2 separate regions of the Homo sapiens genome follow, and region 2 is linked to region 1. Evidence: promoter capture Hi-C in human tissues and cell types (Jung and others, 2019). All regions are on one chromosome and are shown on one strand. The core of a region is centred on a gene start or on the middle of the fragment in contact, and the rest is flanking DNA. Distances in the headings are between cores, read along the strand shown.

Evidence for each region. Contacts are between HindIII fragments. The study calls those that stand out against the background at their distance.
Region 2: a contact is called between a fragment that was not itself captured here and the fragment with the promoter of IGSF22 in region 1, in 1 of the 25 tissues and cell types used here (lymphoblastoid cells).

The regions. Positions count from the first base shown.
Region 1 is chr11:18,721,323-18,727,784 of GRCh38, forward strand. IGSF22 (immunoglobulin superfamily member 22) reads right to left here and starts at 4,866. Exons shown (of 23, transcript NM_173588.4): 1 at 4,752-4,866; 2 at 2,806-2,947; 3 at 588-719; 4 at 213-349. The coding sequence starts at 2,914. The region is part of intron 2 of IGSF22-AS1 (IGSF22 antisense RNA 1); the gene reads left to right. RefSeq lists an enhancer at 309-498. The HindIII fragment of the contact is 11,359 bases long and covers 619-6,462 here.
Region 2 is chr11:18,562,861-18,569,098 of GRCh38, forward strand. It overlaps UEVLD (UEV and lactate/malate dehyrogenase domains), which reads right to left. Exons shown (of 12, transcript NM_001040697.4): 5 at 3,487-3,622; 6 at 2,032-2,150. Among named protein-coding and RNA genes, the nearest start is that of UEVLD, 23 kb to the right of the region's middle. The HindIII fragment of the contact is 5,839 bases long and covers 1-4,600 here.

The sequences.
Region 1 (6,462 bases), core at 3,616-6,115:
CTTTGGGTCCTCTGCTCATTCCGGCAATATCCCGGTTCCTGACTCGGCCTCTCTTATCCTGCCGCGCCTCTCGGGCAATGACAGCTGCTTTTCCCACTGCCCGGCTCTCGGGCCGCCGTTAAGGCTCTCATCGGTGAGAAGACTGGCGGCCCGCCCTGGGGGTCCCTGCCTCTGGCCTTCTCGGTAACTGGACTTGGGCTTGGCCCCCGCACCTTCAGCACGTGTTCCTTGTTAATGCTGTCGTAGAATATCTTGGCGGACTCCTTGATGGGGATGCCGCTCTCCCTCTTCCAGGAGATGTGGGGTTTGGCGTTCCCCTGCACCCGGGCTCGGAACACGGCTTTGTCCCCTGCGATGAGCACAGGACGCGTTTTCGCCTCTTAGCCACCAGGCTAGAGCCTCTGCCACCCTCTGCCGGCTCTCTGCCTCCTCCCAGACACCTGGGCCTGGCCCCGGGCAGGGGAGGAACCCTCGGCCAGGCTCTGCCAGGGTTTAGCATTGGAGGTCGTTGGGGTAGGACGGAGGGTGGGGGCACTCGATTAGAAAGCGAAGCACTGGAGCCCGGTGAGCCACAGGCAGCAACACACCCTCGGGCGCGGTGACCGGTTGAGGCTTCTCCACGAACTCAGGGACGCTGTCGCCCGCAGGGATGTTTGAGCTCCGGGTCACTAAGCTGAAGAACTCCACTATGCTCGAGGACTTCCTCCTCACGACCTCCTCTGTGGGGGCAGGCGAGAGGTCAGAATGGGCTCCAGGTAGAAGCCCAGCTCGCGATGGGAGGACAGAGCTTTCTTGAGAGGACGGTGGAGCATGGGAACAAAGAGCATTTAGGGAAGTGGGAGCAGGACCAGCTACATGGGGAGAAAGCAGGGTGAGTCGATGGGCCATTGTGTTATGGCAAGTTTCAACCACTAGGGGAGGCGAACTCCTTTCCCACACCTCAGTGGTCCATTACCTTTATGGGGCCACAGCCCTGAGTCCTAATTTTTTTTTTTAAAGGAGGCTTCTCTTTTGGAATTTTCTTGGTCTCTTAGGCTTCTCTCCTGGAAGTCCTGGTCCCCCAGTAGCATTAAGAGGGGCTAGGCCTGCTTCTGCCTGGGAGGTCTGCAGCTTGGCTGAGCTCTGCTCTAGATTTTCTCCCTGCCATTCTGTGGGTTCAGCATTCATTGCCTTGGGAGTAGTGATTCTTGAGTGAGGGACAGGACACGACACAGTCCCACTCCAGTGGAGCTATATATGGGAATATCCTTATCTGAAAGCACATCTTCAATGTGGAAATATAATTTTATATTTGGAAAACAAAAAAAACTGTTTTTGCAGTATAAAACTACAGACAATCTTCTTGGCTGGTGAGTTATCAATTCACAACAATTGCTCTGAATCATGGAACACTTTCCTTGAGTCAGGAACTGTGCTAGGCACATATCAGAGATGATTTTATTCCATCTTCACAGCATCCCACTGAAGTAGGTGCCTTTATTATCCCACTAATCTGACAGAGGGGGAAAAGTGTGTTAAGAAGCTCTCATGGCCTGCTTTTAAATACTAACAAGAGGTCTCAAACAGGCAGAGTGCAGTGGACACCTGGCCTGCAGATGTCTTTTATGTGACCTCCACAATGTTTAAACAAAAAAGTAGCCCTACATCTGAAAGAGAAAGATTTCACATAAAAATTCAGATTTCTGGATTCTCAACACTGAACCTGTATTCCCATATGGCAACAGTCAGTGGGAGGTGAATAGTGGCTGCCCCTTTAGATGGGATATACAGTCTCTAGTTTACCCCAGTCTTTTCCCCACATTTATGTTCCCTGCCTGGGCCCTGTTGGTCAGTGGTCTACAGCTTTGGCTGCACATATATAATCCATGGAGAACTTTATAAGAAATACCTGATTGAATGGTCTGGGGTGAGACTCAGGTACTGCCATATTTTTGCCCTCCTCACACCCCCTGCACTAAGGTGACTCTGATGTGCGGCCACAGCAGAGAATCACTGCTGTAAATCACTTGAGTTTGGAACTTCTGGTCTAGACCATAGGCCTTGAGTCCCAGCTGTTCCACTTGCTCTGCCTCACTGGCCAGGAGGTGTTGGTTGGTATAGAGTGTTTATCTGGCCTTGACCTCTGTGCACGGAGGACTTTGAGGGACTCTATCCCTTTGAGGCTTTGAGGGAGGGGCAATGACTGTGAGAAGGGGTATCCAATGTCTTGGCCCCCGGCCATCTTTTAATCTCTTTCCACTAGAGACGTGACTAAAACACTCTGTTCAGCTCTGAGACCATTTCTCAGCTTTCCCTTGGATCTGCCCTCTTCCAAGTCTGGCCCCAGAGGGCTAAAAGCCTGGAAGGTAAGGTCACCTTCTTGTTTATGTGTTCACCTTCTTTCTCCACTGGTAGCCCCAAGTCTCCTATTTCTTAAGTGGAGCAGGGTCAGCATTACTGATATGTAGATAAGGTGGCTACCTTCCTAATTTCCCCTATGCCTGAAATTCTACCTTTGGAGATAGAATCTGTTCACCTATGGCTCTGATCTCCTTCAGCAATTAAGAGTTTATCAATCATTCACACACATCCACATGATTGATCTTTTCTAAGCTGTTTTCCTGGAGATCTGATCTGTGTTGAACATCCAGCTGGCTGAAGCTTTAACAAAGCCAAGATTAGAAGCACACGTTGGGTGGGGGTTGCTGTTGGTATTGTGGGCTCCAGAGGGGCCCATTAGTGGCAAAACTGGGGCCACCCAAGGGATGGGTGTGGAGGAAGAATAGCTGCCCTTCCCGATCCCTTCCCTGCCCCCATTCCACTTGCCTCCCACGATCTTGGTTGTCTGGGAGAAGGTCTGCACGTGGGTGGTGGAGCTGGAGAACTCCATGGACACGTGCTCCTGCAGCATCTGCCGGCTGTGAATGGTTGTCATGGTGACAGCAGGCGTGGGCACTCACCTGTGAGACTGGGGAAGAGGATGAGGCCATGAAGGACAAGACAGGGAGTAGGAGGGAGATTCAGAGATGTTATGTGTGTGTTCAGACATAAGAGGAGATGGAAGCACACAGGAGAGGGCCAGGAGAGCAGTCGAGCTCTCTTTTCTTCATTTCCTAGCTTCCTTTTCCTGGTTAGTTACCAGACCCAATAGGCCTGTCCTCTCACTGAGTAACTCCAAACTATTCCAGGGTCTCAGAGGGAGAGGTTATAGGGCTTAGACTTACCCAGCCAACCAAGTAAGGCCTGGAGGGAGTTGAGGATACCTATTGATAGCTACATGGCACTAAGGAGGCAGTGCTGGATGTTTCATCAGGAGGGAATGCAGTCAGACCTAAGAAAGAACTTCCTGACTAAGCCATACTGGAGTGGGCTTTAGAAGGAAGCTGTGTCTCTTATTCCTGGGCCCTGGGGACCCCGGCACTGGTGGAATGCTAAAACAGATGACAAAACATCACTACAATTCTGCTTGTGTTTGCGACATGGTAAAGGCAAAGGTTTAGTTTTTCTTACATTTTTCTTTGAACTGGTAATTCAATCACATAGTTAAAGAATAAAACAATATAAAAATCCATATGGACAGGCTCCCTCCCACTCCTGCGTCTATCTTACAACCTTCCCCATTGCAACAGGTAGCCAGTCTCTAGGCTCCTTCTAGACCTCCATCATGCAAATAGGAAAACTCATGTGTTCTTATCATCTTCCTTTTTTTTTTTTAATTAAAAAAGCACATAAGGTAGCCCATTATACACACTATTCTGACCCTTTCTTTTTTCATTTAATGTGTCTTGGAGATTTTTTCCATACCAGATGATAGCGTTTCCTCATTCCTGTTCAGAGCACCATGTTTTCTCAATGTTTTATTTAACCAGCATTGCGGTTTTTTTTGGGTGATCTCGGCTCATTGCAACCTCCTCCTCTCGAATTCAAGCCATTCTCCTGCCTCAGCCTCCCCAGCAGCTGGGTTTACAGGCACGTGCCACCATGCCCAGCTAATTTTTGTGTTTTCAGTAGAGACAGGGTTTCATCTTGTTGGCCAGGCTGGTCTCAAACTCCTAGCCTCGATTGATCCGCCTGCCTTGGCCTCCCAAAGTGCTGGGATTATAGGTGTGAGCCACTGCATGTGGCCAGCATTGCAGTTTTTTTGTTTTTGTTTTTTTGAGACAGAGTCTTGCTCTGTTGCCCAGGCTGGAGTGCAGTGGCACGATCTTGGCCCACGACAACCTCTGCCTCCCAGGTTCAAGCAATTCTCCTGCCTCAGGCTCCCGAGTAGCTGGGACTACAGGCACCCGCCATCACACCCGGCTAATTTTTTGTATTTTTAGTACAGATGGCGTTTCACTATGTTGGCCAGGCTAGTCTCGAATACCTGACCTCGTGATCCGCCCACCTCAGCCTCCCAAAGTGCTAGGATTACAGGCGTGAGCCACCGCGCCTGGCCCAGCATTGCAGTTTTTAAAGTCCTATTTCGTATATGAGGAAACTGATGTCTGAAAGAAATGACCTGTCCAAGGTCACTCAGACTAGACTCCTAGCTTTTGACTCCAGTCCAGTGGCGTCCCAGAGGGCTCCAAAGCCTTCTTTAACCCAGGTAGTTAGGGGTTAAACTCTATTCCCTCTCTCCACCCCCTAATATATCTCTGCCTGGGCTGCTTCTACCTTTGGGTTCTGAGACTACTCCCCTGTTCCTATTCCTGCCCTCTACCCTATAGTCCCCTCTGGGCTCAGAAGGTGGTCAGCTTTGTCCCCTTCCTGAGGGAGGAGGGGAGCCTTACCTTCAGCACTGACCAGTCCCTCCCAACACTCGAATGCTGTGTCCACGGCTTTGGAGGCTCAGCTAGTGCCTGGACTGTAGGGTGGCCCGTCTCCTTCTTCCTTTGCCCCAACAGTGAGGCTACCAGTGTCATCTGTTCCTTAAATGTCTGGCCCCCTGGGGGCGATTCCTTAGTCAGGCTCTGCAGCTGTCTCAGCTAGATGGCACACTGCTTGGTTGTGGGGGGAGGGGGAGGGCGGTGGAGAAGGGAGGCGGGAAGCAAAGCTGGATCCAGGCTGGGGGAAACACTGAAGGCCAGGCGGGAAGGAGGCTGAGGGTGGCAGTCCAGGGGTACTTTTTTTGTTCCCTTGTGGTACAGGTTTTGGCTCTCACTGCTGCTGGGTAGGACCTCTCTGAGCTGAGGGGCTCAGGGTAGTGTGTGTGCACAGGCACACACTCAGGTACAGGTGCATGCATAGTCCAGCAGGGCTCAGGGAGCAAAGCAACAGGTCTGTATTTTCCAGGGACTGGGACACGGTGAACTGGGGAGGGCCTCTGGGATCTGCTGCGTTGCTACACAAATCCAGGGGTTCCCATTCATGTTGCACTCCTATGTGTGGTTCATACACAGCCTGAGTATCTTTACAAGGCCACCCTGGGGAAGAACAGGGAAATGTTAGGTCTCCTTCCTCTTCCCACTTCAACAGCCCAATCTCCCTAATCTGGGTAGAAGAGTAGGAGGGCCCATCCTCCGGGGGTTGTGGGGAGGTCTCTGCTTGAGGGTGACTGGAGAGTATGGCCACCTCTTCTCAAGGACTTCCATCTGGGCTGCTTCAGCCACCTGTTGTTTTCTTTTCTTTTCTTTTTTTTGAGATGGAGTCTCTGTCACCCAGACTGGATGCAGTGGCACGATCTTGGCTCACTGCAACCTCTGCCTCCCAGGTTCAAGCGATTCTCCTGCCTCAGCCTCCTGAGTATCTGGGATTACAGGCGTGCACCGCTACGCCCGGCTAATTTTTGTATTTTTAGTAGAGATGGGGTTTCACCATGTTGGTCAGGCTGGTCTCGAACTCCTGACCTCATGATCTGCCACCCCTCGGCCTCCCAATGTGCTGGGATTACAGGCGTGAGCCACCGTGTCCAGCCCACCCTGTTGTTTTCTCATCATCTGTAGCACACCCCGCATGCCTGGACCCTGGATCCCACCCAAGGTTCTGGCACCTTGTAAGGACTTGTTGGTCAGCACCCTTGCCCTGGACCCCTCCTTCTGCCCTGGGGTGACCCCCACCTGCCAGCAGTGGCATCATGGCTACTTTTGCTCCATCCCAGGGGGGCAGGGGACAAGAATAGAGCAGGAGTGTCCAGGATGGCTCAGGATCTCAGCCCACATGCAGATTCCCTGGGCCCCTTGGGAGGAGCTACTCTGAGCCCAGGCCTTACAAGGGAAATTACTGGGCTGCAGCTGCTGTTGGGATCTGTGGAGCTAACATGGGATAAGAGTTTGGCCAACAGGGAGGGGCCTGGGTGTGACCTGAATGTCTCCTTACCCTAGCCTTGGCTTCTCTGGCACATCTGTTGGAAATGGTGACCTGCCAGCCACTGTGCCTTCCCTGGAAGCCTTCCACACCTGTCCTTGAGGCTCCCCATGGCCCAGAGCATGTGTCAGGGCCAGGGCTGAGGCTGTGTGAGAATCCTGCAGAATGTTCCCAGTTTGGCTTTACAAATTTGGACTC
Region 2 (6,238 bases), core at 431-2,930, 160 kb before region 1:
ACACAGGGAGACCTATCTCTACAAAAAAACTAAAAATTACCTAGGTGTAGTGGCACACCCCTGTGGTCCCAGCTACTCAGGAGGCTGAGGTGGGAAGATCTCTTAAGCCCAGGAGATAGAGACCGCAGTAAGCCATGATCATACCAGTGCATGCCAACTTGGGCTACAGAGAGAAACCTGGTCTCAAAAACAAAAATGAAAAACCATGACTTTCAGACTTTCAGATGCCTTCTTGTGCTTACCAAAAAAAAAAAAAGACAAATAATTACAAATAAATAAAACTTAGTACTGTTAGGGATGTCAAAAATCAGGTTGATGTGCATGTTATTAGCAGCATAAATTAGTTCTGCCTTTCCAAAGAGCAATCTGGCACTATGTCATAAGTGCTATAAAAACCATTCATGCCCTCTGACTCACTAGTACTATTTTTTAAAATTATGTACAACCAGGCCGGGTGCAGTGGGGCATGCTTGTACTCCCAGCACTTTGGGAGGCTGAGGCAGGAAGATTGCTTGAGCCCAGGAATTCAAGACCAGCCTGGGCAACATGGTGAAACTCTGTCTCTACAAAAAAATACAAGAATTAGTGGGGATGGTTGCTGGCGCCTGTAAGCCCAGCTACTTGGGAGGCTAAGGTGGGAGGATGGCTTGAGCTGGGGAGGTGGAGGGTGCAGTAAGCTGAGATTGCACCACTGCATTCCAGCCTGTGCAACAGAACATGACCCTGTCTAAATAAAATAAAATAATGTATGACCAAATAAAAATTCAGATGAGAAAACAAGCAACTTGAAATGTTTATAGAAGCATTTATTTAGTGACAAAAGACTGAATACAACTCAAATTCTAATTAAGAGGTAATAGCAGGCCAGGTACGGTGGCTCACACTTGTAATCCCAGCACTTTGGGAGGCCAGGGCAGGTGGATCACTTGAGGTCAGAAGTTCGAGACCAGCCTGGCCAACATGGCAAAACCCTGTCTCTGCTAAAAATACAAAAATTAGCTGGGCGTCGTGGCGCATGCCTGTAGTCCCAGCTACTCTGGAGGCTGAGGCAGGAGAATCGCTTGAACCCAGGAGGCGGAGGCTGTAGTGAGCCAAGATTGTACCACTACACTCCAGCCTGGGTAACAGAGCGAGACTCCACCTAAAAAAAAAAAAAAAAAAAAAGAGGTGATAGTGTATTCAAATGGAGGGTGAAAGAAATAAAACTACAGCATGCCAAAAGTTGGCATATTTAACTCTGAGCAGCCAGCTTTTAAGATATTCTAGCTCCATGGATATAATTTAATTATTTGCTGCAGTAGAACCCACCTCCAAGACATATGTGAGTCTTAAATGGAAAGGGAAGAATTTAGATGGCAAAACAATCAAATATATATAGAAAAGAAAAACTAATGCCAGCCACCAAATAAATATATAGAGGTACAGCTATTCTATTCAGGGCTACATCTCTCAAATGACAAAAGACATGCTGTTATCATGATACTAGGCTCTGGAGGGAGGCAGGCAGGTCTTTTGAACCTCTCTGGAAGGGCATTTAAGCTTTCCTGCAAACAATTTATGCAGACACTAGTAAAAAGGACTGATGAAAAAAACAAACCCTAAACTAGTATTAAATATCAACTCAGAAACTGTGATCCTAAAAGAAAGTAATTATGTAAGAAAAGGCCATCTTTAAAAAAAAAAAAGCCAATTTTAGAAAGAGCTAAAATTACTACATTAAATGAGTTTAATTAAAGTGGCATGATTCAGAAAATACAAAAGAATTTGTGATTAAGTCATATGAATGTCAAATTGAGCTTTCCCTTGGATGAGGATAAGCCCATTGTTCAAATCACTTTTTTAAACCTACTAATTAAAAGGCAACATCACTGATGAAAGCTTTCAACTTTTTTGTCAACTTACTAAATATATTTTAAGCCAAAATAAGGTTTTCCCACGACAAAATGAAGGCATTTTTTGGTGTGTAAAACACAACCTGCCTAGAAGTGTGGCACTATGATAGATGTATTTATAACCACTATGTTTACATACCTTTGCTGAAATTGCTAATGTGCAGGCAATACCGAGTTCTCCACCTCCAACCACAGTAATTTTATTGACTGTTTTATTCTCATGATTTGCCCAGCTCTTTGAATTTGTATCTGAAACACCTAGAAAGAAAGGTGAATTATCCTGAGAATTCAAAAATATCAAGAATTTTTTTAGGATCTTTAAAAAAAATATATAGCAGGCTTCATAGCTTAGAGAGAAAATATGGTGCTAGTCCATAATGGGCAAAAAATACTACTGAACAAATGAATGCAAGGAAGGCAGACGTTTCCTATTAAATAGTCGACTAAATAGAAATTATCCTTCTAAAGAGAATGTATCTTTCTAAACATTTTTAAAATATTGTATAAGACTCTAAAAAAGTAGGATTTCCATAATTCTGAAAAATATTCCAACTCATTGCTCTGGTCTACAATAAAAAAATATGTCTAACACCTTACCAAATGTTTCAAACATAGGTATTTGCCTTTATTCTTGATGAGAATCATAGATATTCTGATCCAATATATTGAATAAGCCAACAAGCCACATATACATATCATGAAAAAAAGTTTGGGATCATTAATATACAGCAAGTGGTTTTGAACAAGAATTGTTTTATCTGTTTAAGACCAATTCTTTACACTTTAAGAAACCTGGCCAGGCCCGGTGGCTCATGCCTGTAATCCCTGAACTTTGGGAAGCCAAGGCGGGAGGATCACCTGAGGTCAGGAGTTCAAAACCAGCCTGGCCAACATGGCAAAACCTCATTCTTATCAAAAATACAAAAATTGGCTGGGCATGCCTGTAGTCCCAGCAACATGGGAGGATGAAGCAGGGGAATCGCTTGAACCCAGGAGGCAGAGGTTGCATGAGCCCATATGGTACCACTGCACTCCAGCCTGGGTGACACAGCGAGACTCCATCTCAAAAAAATAAAAAAATAAATAATATTTATTGGAATTACATGGTAATACCCTGTGATAAAGGCAAAGGAATTACTTTTTTTTTCTTTTTTTTTTTTTTTTGAGATGGAGTCTTGCTCTGTTGCCCAGGCTGGAGTGCAGTTGTTCAATCTCAGCTCACTGCAACCTCTGCCTCCCGGATTCAAGCAATTTTCCCACCTCAGCCACCCAAGTAGCTGGGATTACAGGCACCTGCCACCACGCCCAGCTACTTTTTTTATTTTTAGTAGAGATAGGGTTTCACCATGTTGGCCAAGCTGGTCTCCAACTCCTGACCTCAGGTGATCTGCCTGCCTCAGCCTCCCAAAGTCCTGGGATTACAGGAGTGAGCCACTGCGCCTGGCCTGAGGCACAGGAATTTCTTATTTCAAAAACAGATGTACATACGCACACAAATTTATTTATAAAAATCAAGTGGCAGAAAGTAAAGGAGTTTAGTGAGAAACTGGTAACTCATAACTCTCAAGATAATCTGCCTGACAAATATACAAACCTTCAGTGATTTTTGCAATATAGGCTAGCAAGTCTACCTGCCGTGCCTCATCAGATGATGATAGAGAATACATGGGAAGTTCCTCTTGAAACTTGGCAATCATTTCTTTAATTAATCCAACAATGACAGATTTAGGCTGTAGAATACACAAAAAACAGAAAAGTTACACAAAAATTTTGCTGAAGAATACTACCTTTGTTGAGGCAGGAGTATTACTTGAGCCCAGGAGTTTCAGATGCAGTGAGTTATGGTTGCACCACTATACTCCAGCTTGGGCAACAGAATGAGACTTCATCTCCAAACAAAACAAACAAAAAATCTTTTTTAACCTATACATTCTTTTAGAGTTAGTCAAAAAGAAGCATTCAATCATGTTCTCATTTTTCAAAAATCATCATACACATTATATGATACTTTTAACTGTTGTAATGCTTTTCATGAAAAATTACTGAATACTTTTAACTGAAAAATAAAGGAAGAAGAAATGCTAATTCAACATTTCCCAAAAGTAGAAAAATAGCATGAATATGCTTAATAGCCGAATACCTAGGTTTAGGAACTCTCCTTTTTTTAACTTTTCATTTTGAAATAATTTCAGACTTACAGAAAAGTTGCAAAAATAGTACATATACTCTTCACCTAGATTACTCAAATGTTAACATTTGATCACATTTGCTTGTTTAGTCTTTCTCTCTCTAGTTTTTCTGAACAAACTGAACAAGTAAACTGCAAACATGATGTCCTTTTACCCCTAAGTACTTTAATGTATATTTCCTAAAAGAAAAAGACATTCTCCTTTTAACCGTTATCAAATCAGAAAATTAACACTAATAGTATCTAATCTGGTACTGTATTCTTTTAATGTAATTGGTTAAGCAACCTTGATGAAATTCACTAACCTTTCTGAGCTTCAGTGTCATCAGTAATACAAAGTGAATAATAAATCCCAAATGGTTGTTATGAGCAATAAATGAGTCAATGAATGCAAACTATACGCCGTGAGTGTAAAACAGATGTTTATTATTATTCCTGGGAATATTTAGTAGTATGCTCATTTAAAAAGTGCTTAATTTCTCAGAGTCTGAGTTTCACTATTTATAAAGTAAGAAGAGGCTATTAGGGCCAAGAATTCAAATACCTTTGGGGACCAAGCAGGTAACGTTAAATGTGTGAAGCTGGCAAGTACAAGAAAATCTGGAGAGACGGTTATTGTGGCAAATTGGAAACAGCATGCCAATAGGCATTCAAATTTACATTAAGAACAAAACAAAACAAGGTAAAACAAAACGAACTGTGCTGTTCAAACAAATTCCATAGGCCTAACGCGGCCCTCTGAATCTCTCAGAGAAATTGCAAACCCTGGCCTAGATGACCTCTAGATTCCTTCTAGCTCCAAAGTTCTATAAAATTATGCTACATAATTATAATTCCAACTGCATGTGGAACTTAAAGGTGCTGCAGTACTTTTAAATAGGGCAATTTAAATAATGTAATGTCTTTTTAAGACTAGTTTTAAGTGGGGGCACTGTGGCTCACACTTGTAATCCCATCACTTTGGGAGGCTGAGGTGGGAGGATGCCTTGATCCCAGGAGTTCAATACCAGCCTGGACAACATAGGGAGATCCTGTCTGTACAAAAAATTTTAAAATTAGTAGTGGATGGTAGACCATGCTTGTAGTCCCAGCTACTCAGAAGGCTGAGGTGGGAAACTCACTTGAGCCCAGGAATTTGAGGGTACAGTGAGCTATGATTGTGCTACTGCACTCCAGCACGGGTGAAGACAGCATTACCCTGTCTCAAAAAAAGAGACTAGTTTTAGCTTATAATAAAGAGGCTCAGAACAGTAAAATAAAATCAGAACTGTCTAAACTAAAATTAAACACAACTTTCACTAGATTATAAGACTATCCCCGAGGATTTATTAAACAAACAAAATTATGAAAAGAGATGCCAATGAAAACCAGAGAGAAGAAACAGGATACATGAATTCCTGCAACATGGTACAGATGTCAAAATACTACTCGAGGATAGTTTTGTTTTGTTTTGTTTAAAGAAGGGTGTAACAATGGATGGAGGAGAGAAACAGACAATTCAAAAAGGAAGAAACGTACGATTGATAAGTAAATGAAAATGATTTCAATTTCTCAAATAACCAAACAACTGAAAATTAAGAGTAAGATCCATTTTTGTCCTTCCAACTGACAAATTTTTATTATGCCCCATTCATCACATTTAACTGGCAATCTTATTTAAATCATCAGGTAATGCAAATAACATAAATGTTCACAAAGTAAAATGTCAACTCCTACTACTGATAATCCGAAGTATGTCCTTTGTTTTTTCTATTTCTTTTTTCTTCTTTTTAAATGTTTTCTATATAAAAATATAGAAAACCATAAAACAAAGTAAAATGCATCTACAATTATACACCTTTTTATAAGCTGTCTATAAAATAAAAAGTGATAATCCTAAGGCATTCTTTACTCCAACCTCACTGGACTCCAATATACCCCTGTCCTCCAGCCCTACTAGCTTTCTGGTACATATAAACATATTTTTTTTTTTGAGGCGGAGTCTCGCTCTGTCGCCCAGGCTGGAGTGCAGTGGTGCAATCTTGGCTCACTGCAAGCTCCACCTTCTGAGTTCACACCATTCTACTGCCTCAGCCTCCCAAGTAGCCGGGACTACAGGCGCCCACCACCACGCCTGGCTTATTTTTTGTATTTTTAGTAGAGACAGGGTTTCACTGCG